Regions from separate parts of the Homo sapiens genome. Here region 1 is linked to region 2. The links are contacts of gene promoters, found by promoter capture Hi-C in blood cells and fetal thymus (Javierre and others, 2016). All regions are on one chromosome and are shown on one strand. Each heading gives the region's core, a stretch centred on a gene start or on the middle of the fragment in contact. The rest is flanking DNA. Distances are from core to core; before and after follow the strand shown. Region 1 has its middle 25 kb from the start of ZNF16. Region 2 holds the start of ARHGAP39 (Rho GTPase activating protein 39).

Region 1 (5,829 bases), core at 1,367-3,866, 290 kb before region 2:
ATTATGAGTCATTTATCATTTATTTTCAACAAATATTTGAGTATGCTATGTGTAAGCCATAAGAAGATACCTTGTTTACAAAGTATGCAGCAATGACATGAATAGTGGAGGCAGCCTCCAATTCCTCCCTCCTGGTAACTCTCCCCAAATCCTTTCTCAGATCTTGCCTTTCCTACTCCAGGAAAGGTCAGCCTGGTTGCAGATTTAAGCCTTTGACCTTGGGCATATTACCTTCCTTCTTCCTTCCCACACCAGTGTTCATTGCTTTACCAGCATGCTTCTCTTTTTCCTCTCCCCAATGGGGTCATATTTGTTGCTTTTTTTTTTATTTGCATTCTGAATATCAGTATTATCCTAGAAGATATTTGTTTGATACAAATATTTCTGTTTATTCTCTAATTCTTTCTTCCATAGTAAAATGCAAGCGATTCACTTTTTTTTTCTTTTTCATTCTTTCAGGCTGTGATTCTAGGATTGAAAAAGAGGAAATGATTCCAAAGCAGGACATTTCTGAAGAATTGGAATCCCAGAGAGCAAAATCAGAAGATCATGTAAGGAATATTTTTAAGGAAACTGAAGAGATGAGTAAAACTGAGGGAAAGTTAGAGAATTGCTGGAGAAAATATGCAGTAGAAGGAGTTAAGAACTCATTCTCCCAGAAGAGCAATTTCAGAGAAATTACCATGAGGTATGTGAAAACCCTCTCTAGAGAGAATGGCCAGAAGTTCAATGCTGTTGGAGAAAACTGCATTACAGACTCAAATCCTGCCAAACATCTTAGAGGGTCTAGAGAGGAGAGTCTCCATCCAAGTGTGTCAAGTGTAGAAAACTTGCAACAACATGAGGACCTCATTAACCTCCAGAGTTTCCAATTAGGAGAAAGAGCCTATCAGACAGATGTGTTAGTGAAAGTGCCCAGACAGAGCTCAGTTCTTAGTGAGAATCAGAGGATGAATAATCCAGAGAGATGGTTTGAGAGTACTGGGTGTGGAAAAACTTACAATCAGAACAGAGCTTTTAACCAGCACCAGAGATTTCATAGTGGAGAGAAGACCTATGAGCACAATGAATGTGGAAAAGCTTTCAGTTGGCCCTCTATCCTCAGTAAACATCAGAGAATCCACACTGGTAAGAAACTCTACACATGTGAGGATTGTGGCAAATCTTTCAGTGTTCACTCATACTTTATTCAGCATTGTAAAATTCACACTAGAGAAAAACCCTATGAGTGTATTAAATGTGGGAAAGCTTTTAGTACACATTCATCTTATGTTCAACATCTAAAAATTCATACAGGAGAGAAACATCATGAGTGTAATCAGTGTGGGAAAGCCTTTAGTCATAGCTCTAATCTAATTCATCATCAGAGAATTCATAGTGGAGAGAAACCTTACAAGTGCAAAGAATGTGGGAAAGCCTTCAACAGACAATCAAACCTTATTCAGCATCAGAGAATTCATTCTGGAGAGAAACCTTATGACTGTAAGGAGTGTGGCAAAGCCTTCAGTACACAATTATTTCTCATTCAGCATCAGAGAATTCATACAGGAGAAAAGCCCTATGAATGTAATGAATGTGCAAAATCCTTTAGCCTGAACCGAACTCTTACTGTCCATCAGAGAATTCACACTGGAGAGAAACCTTATAGGTGTAATGAATGTGGGAAATCCTTTAGTCAATGCTCACAAGTTATTCAACATAAGAGAATTCACACTGGAGAGAAACCTTATATCTGCAATGAGTGTGGAAAATCATTTGGTGCTCGTCTATCCCTTATCCAGCATCAGAGAATTCACACTGGAGAGAAACCTTATGGTTGTAGTGTGTGTGGGAAAACCTTTAGTCAAAAGGGACATCTTATTCAGCATCAGTGAATTCACACAGGAGAGAAACCCTATGAATGTAGTGAGTGTGGAAAAGCTTTCAGCCAGAGTTTTAATCTTATTCACCATCAAAGAACACACAATGGTGAGAAGTCCTATGAATGTAATGAATGTGATAAAGCCTTCAGTTTGCTTTCTTCCCTTGTTCAACATCAGAGAATACATAATGGAGACAAACCCTATGAGTGTCACAAATGTGGGAAGGCCTTTAGCCAGGGGTCACACCTTATTCAGCATCAGAGGAGTCACATTGGTGAGAAACCCTATGAGTGTAATGAGTGTGGGAAAACCTTTGGGCAGATATCCACCCTAATTAAGCATGAGAGAACACACAATGGAGAGAAGCCCTATGAGTGCAGTGACTGTGGGAAGGCCTTCAGCCAGAGTGCACACCTTATCCACCATCAAAGAATTCACACTGGAGAGAATCCCTATGAGTGCAGTGAATGTGGGAAGGCCTTCAATGTTTGTTCCTCTCTCATTCAGCATCACAGAATTCATACTGGTGAGAAACCTTATGAATGTAGTGACTGTGGCAAGGCGTTCAGTCAGCATTCACAATTTATCCAACATCAGAGAATTCACACTGGAGAGAAACCCTACATGTGCAATGAGTGTGAGAAATCCTTCAGTGCATGCTTATCCCTTATCCAACACAAGAGAATTCACACTGGAGAGAAACCCTATGTATGTGCCAAATGTGGAAAATCCTTCTGACAAAGCTCTCACCTTATTCAACATCAGAGAATTCACAGTGGGGAGCAACCTCATACGTGTAATCGATGTGAAAAAACCTTCAGTTAGAGAATAACTCTTAGTAGTCATGAGAAAATCCATACAATTCACATTAGAGAGCAAGTCTATGAATGTAGTAAGTGTGGGGAACTCTAGCGCACAGTCATCTTTCATTCAACATTGTACAGTTCACAGTGGAGAGTAACTGATTAGTCTATAAATTCTTCACAGTTATACATTATATGAGAGTCATACTCGTGAGAAATGAGTCACTTTATGGTTTTCCTTTTGGAGATTCAGCTCTTAAGGGATTTCACTCTCCCAGTGAGCTGCTAACTAAAGGCAGGCTGCTGAAGTATATAGCAGCAATCCCACAATAGCACACCTTGCTTCAGATTCAGAGGATGAGCCCCCTTCTTGAGCCCTGTAGATATGTGAAACTTAATTATTTAGATGCATTTCATGGCACCAGACCCTAAGGTACAGTTAGGTATTTCACTGGAGACCACTTACTTTGCTTTGCTTTGCTTTTTTTTTTTTTTTTTTTTGTATGATTTATTTCAACTTCAAAGAAAGTAGTTGAGATCCTTGCACTTCCAAGTGTGATGGAACCAGGCTAGGGTTTTCTTTGTTTGTTTGGGCCTCTTCAAAACGTTTTTATTCTGTTATAAGGAATATGATACCTTAAGCTTCAATTCACAGGGAAGAGAAACATGATTATAAGCAAAAGTTTGTCAAGGAATAAGGTGAGTCTTTGTGTAGATTAAAATAGTTGAGACCTTGCTAAAAAGTCAGATAACACTGTAATCCACCTCCAGGTTTCCAAGAGTTAAGACGCTGCCAGCAAGGAGCTTGCAGTCTTGTAGCTGGCCCAATATATCCAACTAATTCAAAATGGGAAATTGTACATTTTACTTAAACAGGATTTGGTAGATGGGTCTTCTAGATATGTTGTCATGAAGAAAAATCAGGAAAATGTCCAAGGGTGGGAGCCTGTGGCTTATGGCTTCACTTACCCATCACAGATAGCTATGTTACACTGCAAGAACAGAGTTCATGGCTTTTCCTGAGGTGGCTGGAAACCTTAATCTCCTGAAGTTAAGTCAAAACTTAAATGTCAATTCACCCAGCTCTCTTGCCTGCAGGCTGATCCAGGGACTTAGAGCTTGTTACCCAGTTACAACTTCTTCTAGAGAAGAACTTTTAAGAAGGAAGCAAAAAGAAATTCAGTTTCCCCCAAGGATCTCTTCTTTGAGGTTCCATCAAGAGATGACAAAAGGAGGCTGGGCGCGGTGTCTCACACCTGTAATCCCAGCACTTTGGGAGGCTGAAGTGGGCAGATCACGAGGTCAAGAGATCAAGACCATCCTGGCCAACATGGTGAAACCACATTTCTACAAAATGCAAAAATTAGCTGGGCATGGTGGTGCACGCCTGTAGTCCCAGCTACTTGGGAGGCTGAGGCAGGAGAATTGCTTGAACCCAGGAGGCGGAGGTAGCAGTGAGCCAAGATTGCACCACTGCATTCCAGCATGGCCACAAAGCAAGACTCCAAAAAATATATATATATATGACAAAAGGGTTAGGAAGCTTTTCCTCTGAGGCCCACGATTACACAACCAAATCAGAAAATAATATTTTTTTTGTTTTAAACCTGTTTACATAAGATGGAGGTGTTTACTTAACTAAGAACCTCGGTATTTACTCAAATCCGGTTTTGGGTTTTATGGCTAAAACATTTCTCCAGATTAACCTTATCAGTTTGGAATATGTTTTTATTTTCCATTAAATATTTCATCCAAATCATACTGAATTTTATTTATCATGGCTTTTAATGTTCTCTATTCAAGTCAAATTTCTGTTTCCTAATTACTTGGCTTGGTGATGGCATTAATATTGGTTGGGAGCTAGATGGTCTCTGCTCTATTTGATGATTGGCATAGAGCAATCATACACTTGGTACTTCCTAGCATTTTTTTTTGAGACAGTATCATGCTGTATCATGTTGCACAGGGTGGAGTGCAGTGGTGCAGTCATAGCTCACTGTAACCTTGAACTCCTGGGCTCAAGTGATTCCCCTGCCTCAACTTCATGAGTAGCAGGGACTACAGCTGTGTACCACCACACCGGCCTCTCCTGGCTTCTTAACCACTTACATTAAAATTGAGAGGAGAAAGGCATTTTCAGTTTCTTTAGTTAATAAAAAGAAGCCATTTCTGGAGGAGTTTTATGCCTGTACCAGCAGAGGTTCAGCCTTCCAGGAATCTCATCATGATCCATACTGCTGACACAGGCCTTTGTCACCTGAAGCATTCTTAAAATAAGGAGACTGACATTAAACAGGACAATTGTGAACTCCACTTTGTAAGCATCATACATATCTTACAACTCATTCTGAAGACTCCTTTATTCTTGCTCTTCCCAGAGAGCTACTGTGTTTAGTCATGCTCACTGCACTCACAAGAGAAAAAGAGTAAGTGGCATATTTGCAGGTGTTGATGGTTACAAGAGCATTTTTACTTTTTCCTCCATGTTTGTTCTGCAGCATTTCCATTGATGCATGCTATTGTAGACTTCTTAGGTTGACCTTGGCCTTGACCTCCACCACTAGCTCATGACCCAAAACTGAAGATGTGCATCAGAAAGGGACAGATTTGGTCTTTCTGCTGTAAAAGATATTCTGCCTTAGTGCCTGCTAATTTGTTGTGCATAGTCCTGTGCTGCCAATCTTCCCCACCAATTGTTAAGGTTAATGTGTGTTTTATATGTGTATTCACAAACATTAAAATGTAATCAGTGGATTCCATTATTGCCCATTTTCATGTAAGGTGGGAGGCACTTTGTATGGTTGGGAATCTGTAAGATCTTTAGGACTAAAACTCCTGCCTCTAATCCCAATTTATGAGGCCCTGACTCTCCAGGCAGCATGACTTAGTTGGATTTTTCTCTGCCACGAAACCTGCCAAGGCTTCTTCATCACCCAAAACCCTCCCATGACCAACCTGTATGAAAAGAGGGGCAAAGGTCATTATTAATCACAGACATGCAAAATGATATTACAAGATGTCATTTTACCCTCACTAGGTTGGCAAAAATTAAAGATCTGACAGAGAATGACACCAAATATATTTAGCAACAGTTACTCTCATACGCGGCTGATAGGAGTGGAAATTGGTATGACACATTGGAAAATATTTTGGCATTATTAATA
Region 2 (6,029 bases), core at 502-3,001:
TGTGTGGTCACGGGGTGGGAACTGCTCACCGCCAGTGTGTGGTCACGGGGTGGGAAGTGCTCACCGCCAGTGTGTGGTCACGGGGTGGGAAGTGCTCACCGCCAGTGTGTGGTCACAGGGGTGGGAAGTGCTCACCGCCAGTGTGTGGTCACGGGGTGGGAAATGCTCACCGCCAGTGTGTGGTCACGGGGTGGGAAGTGCTCGCCGCCAGTGCGTGGTCACAGGGGTGGGAAATGCTCGCCGCCAGTGCGTGGTCACAGGGGTGGGAAGTGCTCGCCGCCAGTGCGTGGTCACGGGGTGGGAAGTGCTCGCCGCCAGTGCGTGGTCACGGGGTGGGAAGTGCTCACCGCCAGTGTGTGGTCACGGGGGTGGGAAATGGTCGCCGCCAGTGTGTGGTCACGGGGGTGGGAAGTGCTCGCCGCCAGTGTGTGGTCACGGGGGTGGGAAATGCTCGCCGCCAGTGCGTGGTCACGGGGGTGGGAAATGGTCGCCGCCAGTGTGTGGTCACGGGGTGGGAAGTGCTCGCCGCCAGTGCGTGGTCACGGGGGTGGGAAGTGCTCGCCGCCAGTGCGTGGTCACGGGGGTGGGAAATGGTCGCCGCCAGTGTGTGGTCACGGGGGTGGGAAGTGCTCGCCGCCAGTGCGTGGTCACAGGGGTGGGAAATGGTCGCCGCCAGTGTGTGGTCACGGGGGTGGGAAGTGCTCGCCGCCAGTGTGTTGTCACAAGTTTAAGGTGAAGGCAGTCAGCCTGGATGTGTGATTTTCTTCAGCAGTCATGGAGGAGAAGGGTTGGGCTCGCCCAGTTGGGTTTTCTAAGTGAATACAGTGGAGAGGGAGCGGGAGGCGAAAAAGCAGAGCCCTGTGTATAAGAGTGAAGAGTGAAGTGTGACGACGGCCCAACAGGGAAGCGCGGGCGGCGAGACAGCCCGACGGGAGATCTCCTGAGGCGGGAGAGTCCCTGCAAGGCGACTGAGCTGCAGGGCAGGAGGTGGAGCTCCACGGATGACTTTTGACGGGGGCCTTTCAGCCCTTTGCGGCTTCTCACAGTTGAGGACCCAGGGAATGTCCAGGACTGAAGGGTGTGCGCCCCTGTCTTCTACTATCGAAGCTTCAGGCTGTTTAGCCTCCGTTTCTCCAGAAATGCCAGTCAGATTCAATTTCCAGAAACGCACCTGGCACTAAGAGAATCTAGAAAACCAGGCTGAACGCAGATTAGAAAACGCCGAATAGAGCACTAGTCGAGCTGCAGCTGAGTGAATTACCGAGTAAAAGTGACAGGACTAAAAAGGTGAGAATAACAGGAGGTGAAGAGACACGAGCCCGCCACAAGAAGGACTGAGGAACAGGGCAGCCCACGTTTTGAGAAGAATGGCTGTATTTCTAGAGTCGAAGAAAAGTGAAATCTCAGACTCGGGAAGCCCAACGTGGTTTGAGAGGGCAAAATTACACCAAACCACACCGAGACGTGTCAGATGGTAACTGCTCTGCACCGAAAGAGACGGGAAGACACCGCTAACTCACAGGGTAGGTCCGCGCGGGAGGCCTCTGGCGCGGCGACGGGGCGGGGCCAGGCGGCTCCCAGCATGCCGCGCGCGCCCTCCGCGGGACTCCGGCTCCCGGCATGCCGCGCGCCAGCGCATGCGTGATGCGGCCTCGCGAGGCAGTGCCCCCTGGCGGCGGGTAGTGACCGCCGCGGGGGCGGAGCCGGAGGCGGGGGGTTGCGCTTGGTGACGGGAGGACGCGCGGCCGCCGCGCACTGGGCCGGCGGCGGCGGCGGAGGACGCCGACAGCACGGGCTGCCGCGGCAGCAGCGGCGGAGCAGCAGAGAGGCCGGGGAGCGGCGGCTGGCTCACGCGCGTCGCGCGGGCCGGGATGAGGGACTGTGGCGGCGCGGCCCGCGCGCAGCCGGCCGGTGAGAGCGCGGGCAACGGGCGGTGGGCGGCGCGGGCCAAGAAGATGGCGGAGGGGCCGGCGCTGCGGTCCCCGTGGTCCTGGCCCAGCCTCGGCGGAGGCTCCAGGCCCGGCAGCGCAAGGAATCCAGGCCCGCGGCGACTGCAGCGGCGGGAGGGGCTGTGACTGGGCCGTGGAGGGAGGGGGCGTGGGTGTGCGGGGCCCGGCCGGGCGGGGGGCGCGGAGGCTCGAGGGGCCGAGGCCGCGCGGGGCCCGGGTGCGCGCCGACGGGCCGGGCTGGGAGTGTGAGGGTGGGTGAGTTCGCGTGTGCCCGGCCCGAAGTGGGTGTGACTGTACCCTGTCCAGAGTGAGTTGTGTCCCTGCCCTAGGTGGGTGTGAGTGTGCCCGGCCCCAATGTGGGTGTGGGTGTGCCCCTGTCCAGAGTGAGTGTGAGTGTGCCCCTGTCCACGGTGGGTATGAGTGTGCCCGGCCCGAGGGGAGTGTGGGTGTGTCCGGCCCCAGGGGGGTGTGAGTGTGCTCCTGCCCGAGGGAGGTGTGAGTGTGCCCGGCCCTAGATGGGTGTGAGTGTGCCCCTGCCCGAGGGGGGTGTGAGGGGACCCCGCCCGTGGTGGGTGTGGGTGCACGTGTGCCCAGCCTGAGCTCGGGGCACCGGCCGCATTCCCGGGCGCCGTCGGAGTGGGGACAAGGTGGATGCCCGCCGGTCGGGTCTGGTGCCCGCGTCCTGAAGGGCGGCCCGGGTGCAGGGCTGCGGTGCGCTGCGGTGCAGCCTCGGGCTTTGTCCCCGGGGCGCAGGGAGCGGACATGGGCGTCTCCAGGTGGGGTCATGGCCGCCTGCGGGTGGGCTCTGCGGCCTCGCCTCTGCGGCAGGCGCGGGCTGGGGCTCCGGCGCTCGGAGCCTTCCCCTCCCGGTTGCCCCCCGAGCTGGAATTCCCTCGGTTGCTTCCCGGTTGCTTCCCAGTTGCTGGAGTGCTGTGGGTGGAGGCGGCGTTCCGTGCCCAGGGCGGCGAGAGAGGCGGGCTGTGCATTTTGGGGCCCAGGACGTTTTTTATTTTAAAACGTGCAGCCGGCTCCTTGGCAGCTGTGGGTGTGTTCCGAGCCGCTTCCCACCAGCAGCTGCTGTGGGCGCTGCGCAGCTTCGGAAACGCAGCCGGGCCCCCTCCCCCTCAGTGCTGTACGGGTTTAACCAGACCTCCAGTGACCTCTGCTGAAAAACCTACAGTGGTGAGGCTTCTCGTGCCTCCTGGTACAACAATACGGAGATTTGTCTTTTGAAGCCAGTGAGGGGAATTGGACGCTGCGTCCTAGGTGCCCTCTATAGACAGCAGGTGGTTCCGTCGGCGGCGCCCGATCCACAAGGAGCAAGGTGCGATTCTCGCGCCGGGGGAGGGAAAGGCGATTTGATAGGAGGTGTGGCTGTAAATCGAGGAGACTCATTCCATAAACCGCCCTGGGCGCAGGCTCTGTAGCCATAAATGCTTGGAGTGAATGAATGGGGGTGGCGCCTCGCTCCCTGCACTTGGTGTAGCCAGCTGTCTTCCTGAGAGGCAGGGGAGCAGAGTGGACAGGAGGGCGGGTTCTGGAGCCAGGCTGCCCGCCTCTGAGTCGCGACTCTTCTGTTTACTGGCTTTGTGGTCTTCGGCAAGGTCTCTGTGCCTTTGGCTTCTCATCTGTAAAATGGGAACACTAATAATATTGGCCTCATAGGGTTGTTGTGAGGACTCAGTAAATTAAGACTTGTGAAACACTTTGTTCGTGGCACACTGTGTTTTAGAAAGTTAGGAATGGTTATTACTGCCAAGATCTGGTGCTTCCGGGGTGCATGTGCTGGGTCAGTGGGTCTTCAGTTTCTCCAGCACTGCCAATGTAATGTAAACTGGAAGTTTACATTAAGCTGGAAGTCTGTGGCGCTGGTTTCTCACACAAGAAAGCTGAGGTCATATTTGGATGAACACATGTTTATAAAGGTAAAAGAGAGACAAGCCTCACATACTTAGATGAATTATTATATAAGATTGTTTTAAGACGTTCTTAGAGAAAAATGGCCAGGTGCGGTGGCTCACACCTGTAATGCCAGCACTTTGGGAAGCTGGGGCGAGCAGATCGCTTGAGGTCAGGAGTTCAAGATCAGCCTAACCAACATGGTGAAACCCCGTCTCTACTAAAAATACAAAAATTAGCTGGGTGTGGTGGCTCACGCCTGTAGTCCTAGCTACTGGGGAGGCTGAGACAGAGAATCGCTTGAACCCAGGAGGCGGAGCTTGCAGTGAGCCAAGATTGTGCCACTGCACTCCAGCCTGGGTGACAGAGCGAGACTCTGTCTCAAAAAAAAAAAAAGAATATTTTATTTTATTTTATTTTTATTTTTAATTTTTGAGACAGAGTCTCGCTCTGTCGCCCAGGCTAGAGTGCAGTGGCACTATCTTGGCTCACTGCAAGCTCTGCCTCCTGGGTTCATGCCATTCTCCTGCCTCAGCCTCCCGAGTAGCTGGGACTACAGGCTCCTGTCACCACGCCTGGCTAATTTTTTGTATTTTTAGTAGAGACGGGGTTTTACTGTGTTAGCCAGGATAGTCTCGATCTCCTGACCTCATGATCCGCCCGCCTCGGCCTCCCAAAGTGCTGGGATTACAGGTGTGAGCCACCGCGCCCAGCCAGTTTTTGCTTGTTTTTGAGACAGGGTCTCACTCTGCTGGCCAGGCTGGAGTGCAGTGGTGCGATCATGGCTCACTGCAGCCTTGACCTCCTGTGCTCAAGGCATCCTCCCACCTTAGCCTCCCAAGTAGCTGGGACTACAGGTGTGTGTCACCACACCTGGCTAATTTTTTTGTTCGGTTTTGTTTGTAGAGATGTGTTTTGCCATGTCACCCAGATTGGTCTCAAACTCCTGAGCTCAAGTGATCCACTTGCCTTGGCTTCCCAAAGTATTGGGATTACAGGCATGAGTCACTGTGCCCAGCCTGCCATTGTTGTTATACTTCTCAGTATTATCCTTGCAACAGAAACGGTGATTTATTAAAATAAACGTTAAGTGACAGGGAGGACATAACAGAAAGTGAGAAGGTGGAATCACCAGCAGTGTAACATTCTGCCTGCTAAGCTGTTGTGAGAAGTAAGAATTTTTTTTTTTTTTTTTTTTTTGAGACAGAGTCTTGCTCTGTTGCCCAGGCTGGAGTGCAGTGGCGTGATCTCGGCTCACTGCAAGCTCCGCCTCCTGGGTTCACACCATTCTCCTGCCTCAGCCTCCCGAGTAGCTGGGACTACAGGCACCTGCCACCACGCCTGGCTAATTTTTTGTATTTTTAGTAGAAACAGGGTTTCACCATGTTAGCCAAGATGGTCTCGATCTCCTGACCTCGTGATCCACCCGCCTCAGCCTCCCAAAGTGCTGGGATTACAGGAGTGAGCCACCGCGCCCGGCCTTTTTTTTTTTTTTTTTTTTTTTGAGATAGAGTCTTGCTCTGTCACCCAGGCTGCAGTGCAGTGGCGAGATCTCGGCTTGCTGTAAGCTCCGCCTCCCAAGTTCACGCCATTCTCCTGCCTCAGCCTCCCGCCACCACGCCCGGCTAATTTTTTTGTATTTTTAGTAGAGACGGGGTTTCACCGTGTTAGCCAGGATGGTCTCGATCTCCTGACCTCGTGATCTGCCCGCCTCGGCCTCCCAAAGTGCTTGGATTACAGGCGTGTGCCACCGCACCCGGCCGAGAAGTAAGATTTAACTTGTTTCAGAACATAGTGGAAAGATTCCCCATATTTCTCAAGGAGATGGTCCTCCTCAAGTCTGGTCACCTCTTCCCTCTGTATCTTAGCTTTACCTTAGAAAATCGCATCTCATCACCTTCATATTGTGTGACACAAAGATTAGGGAAAACCCTTCCACCTTTAGTAGAGTGTTTTGAGATTTGTGACCTTTAAAGTGAGAATATTTAATGTTTAGATAGTGGTAACACAAATAGCCTAAGATAGATTTTTAAATGCCCATCCCAGTTTTGTCTCCTACCTCTCTGCTGGGATGGGCTGTGGAAGCTACATGCTACATGGAGAGTTGGCATGTCCTTGAACAATTTATCAATAGTAGTTCAGAGAATGCAGCCTCCTGGTAGGCTTGTACTGGCTTCTTTG

The links. Contacts are between HindIII fragments. The CHiCAGO score rates a contact against its expected background, and 5 or more counts as called.
Region 1: a contact is called between a fragment that was not itself captured here and the fragment with the promoter of ARHGAP39 in region 2, in 1 of 17 cell types (M1 macrophages). The highest score is 5.9, in M1 macrophages.

Annotation. Positions count from the first base shown.
Region 1 is chr8:144,973,184-144,979,012 of GRCh38, reverse strand. It overlaps the pseudogene ZNF252P. Among named protein-coding and RNA genes, the nearest start is that of ZNF16, 25 kb to the right of the region's middle. The HindIII fragment of the contact is 1,387 bases long and covers 1,923-3,309 here.
Region 2 is chr8:144,681,568-144,687,596 of GRCh38, reverse strand. It overlaps ARHGAP39 (Rho GTPase activating protein 39), which reads left to right and starts at 1,751. Exons shown (of 12, transcript NM_025251.3): 1 at 1,751-1,911. RefSeq lists enhancers at 1-247, 1,434-2,045, 2,659-3,271, 3,272-3,884. The HindIII fragment of the contact is 8,721 bases long and covers 1,110-6,029 here.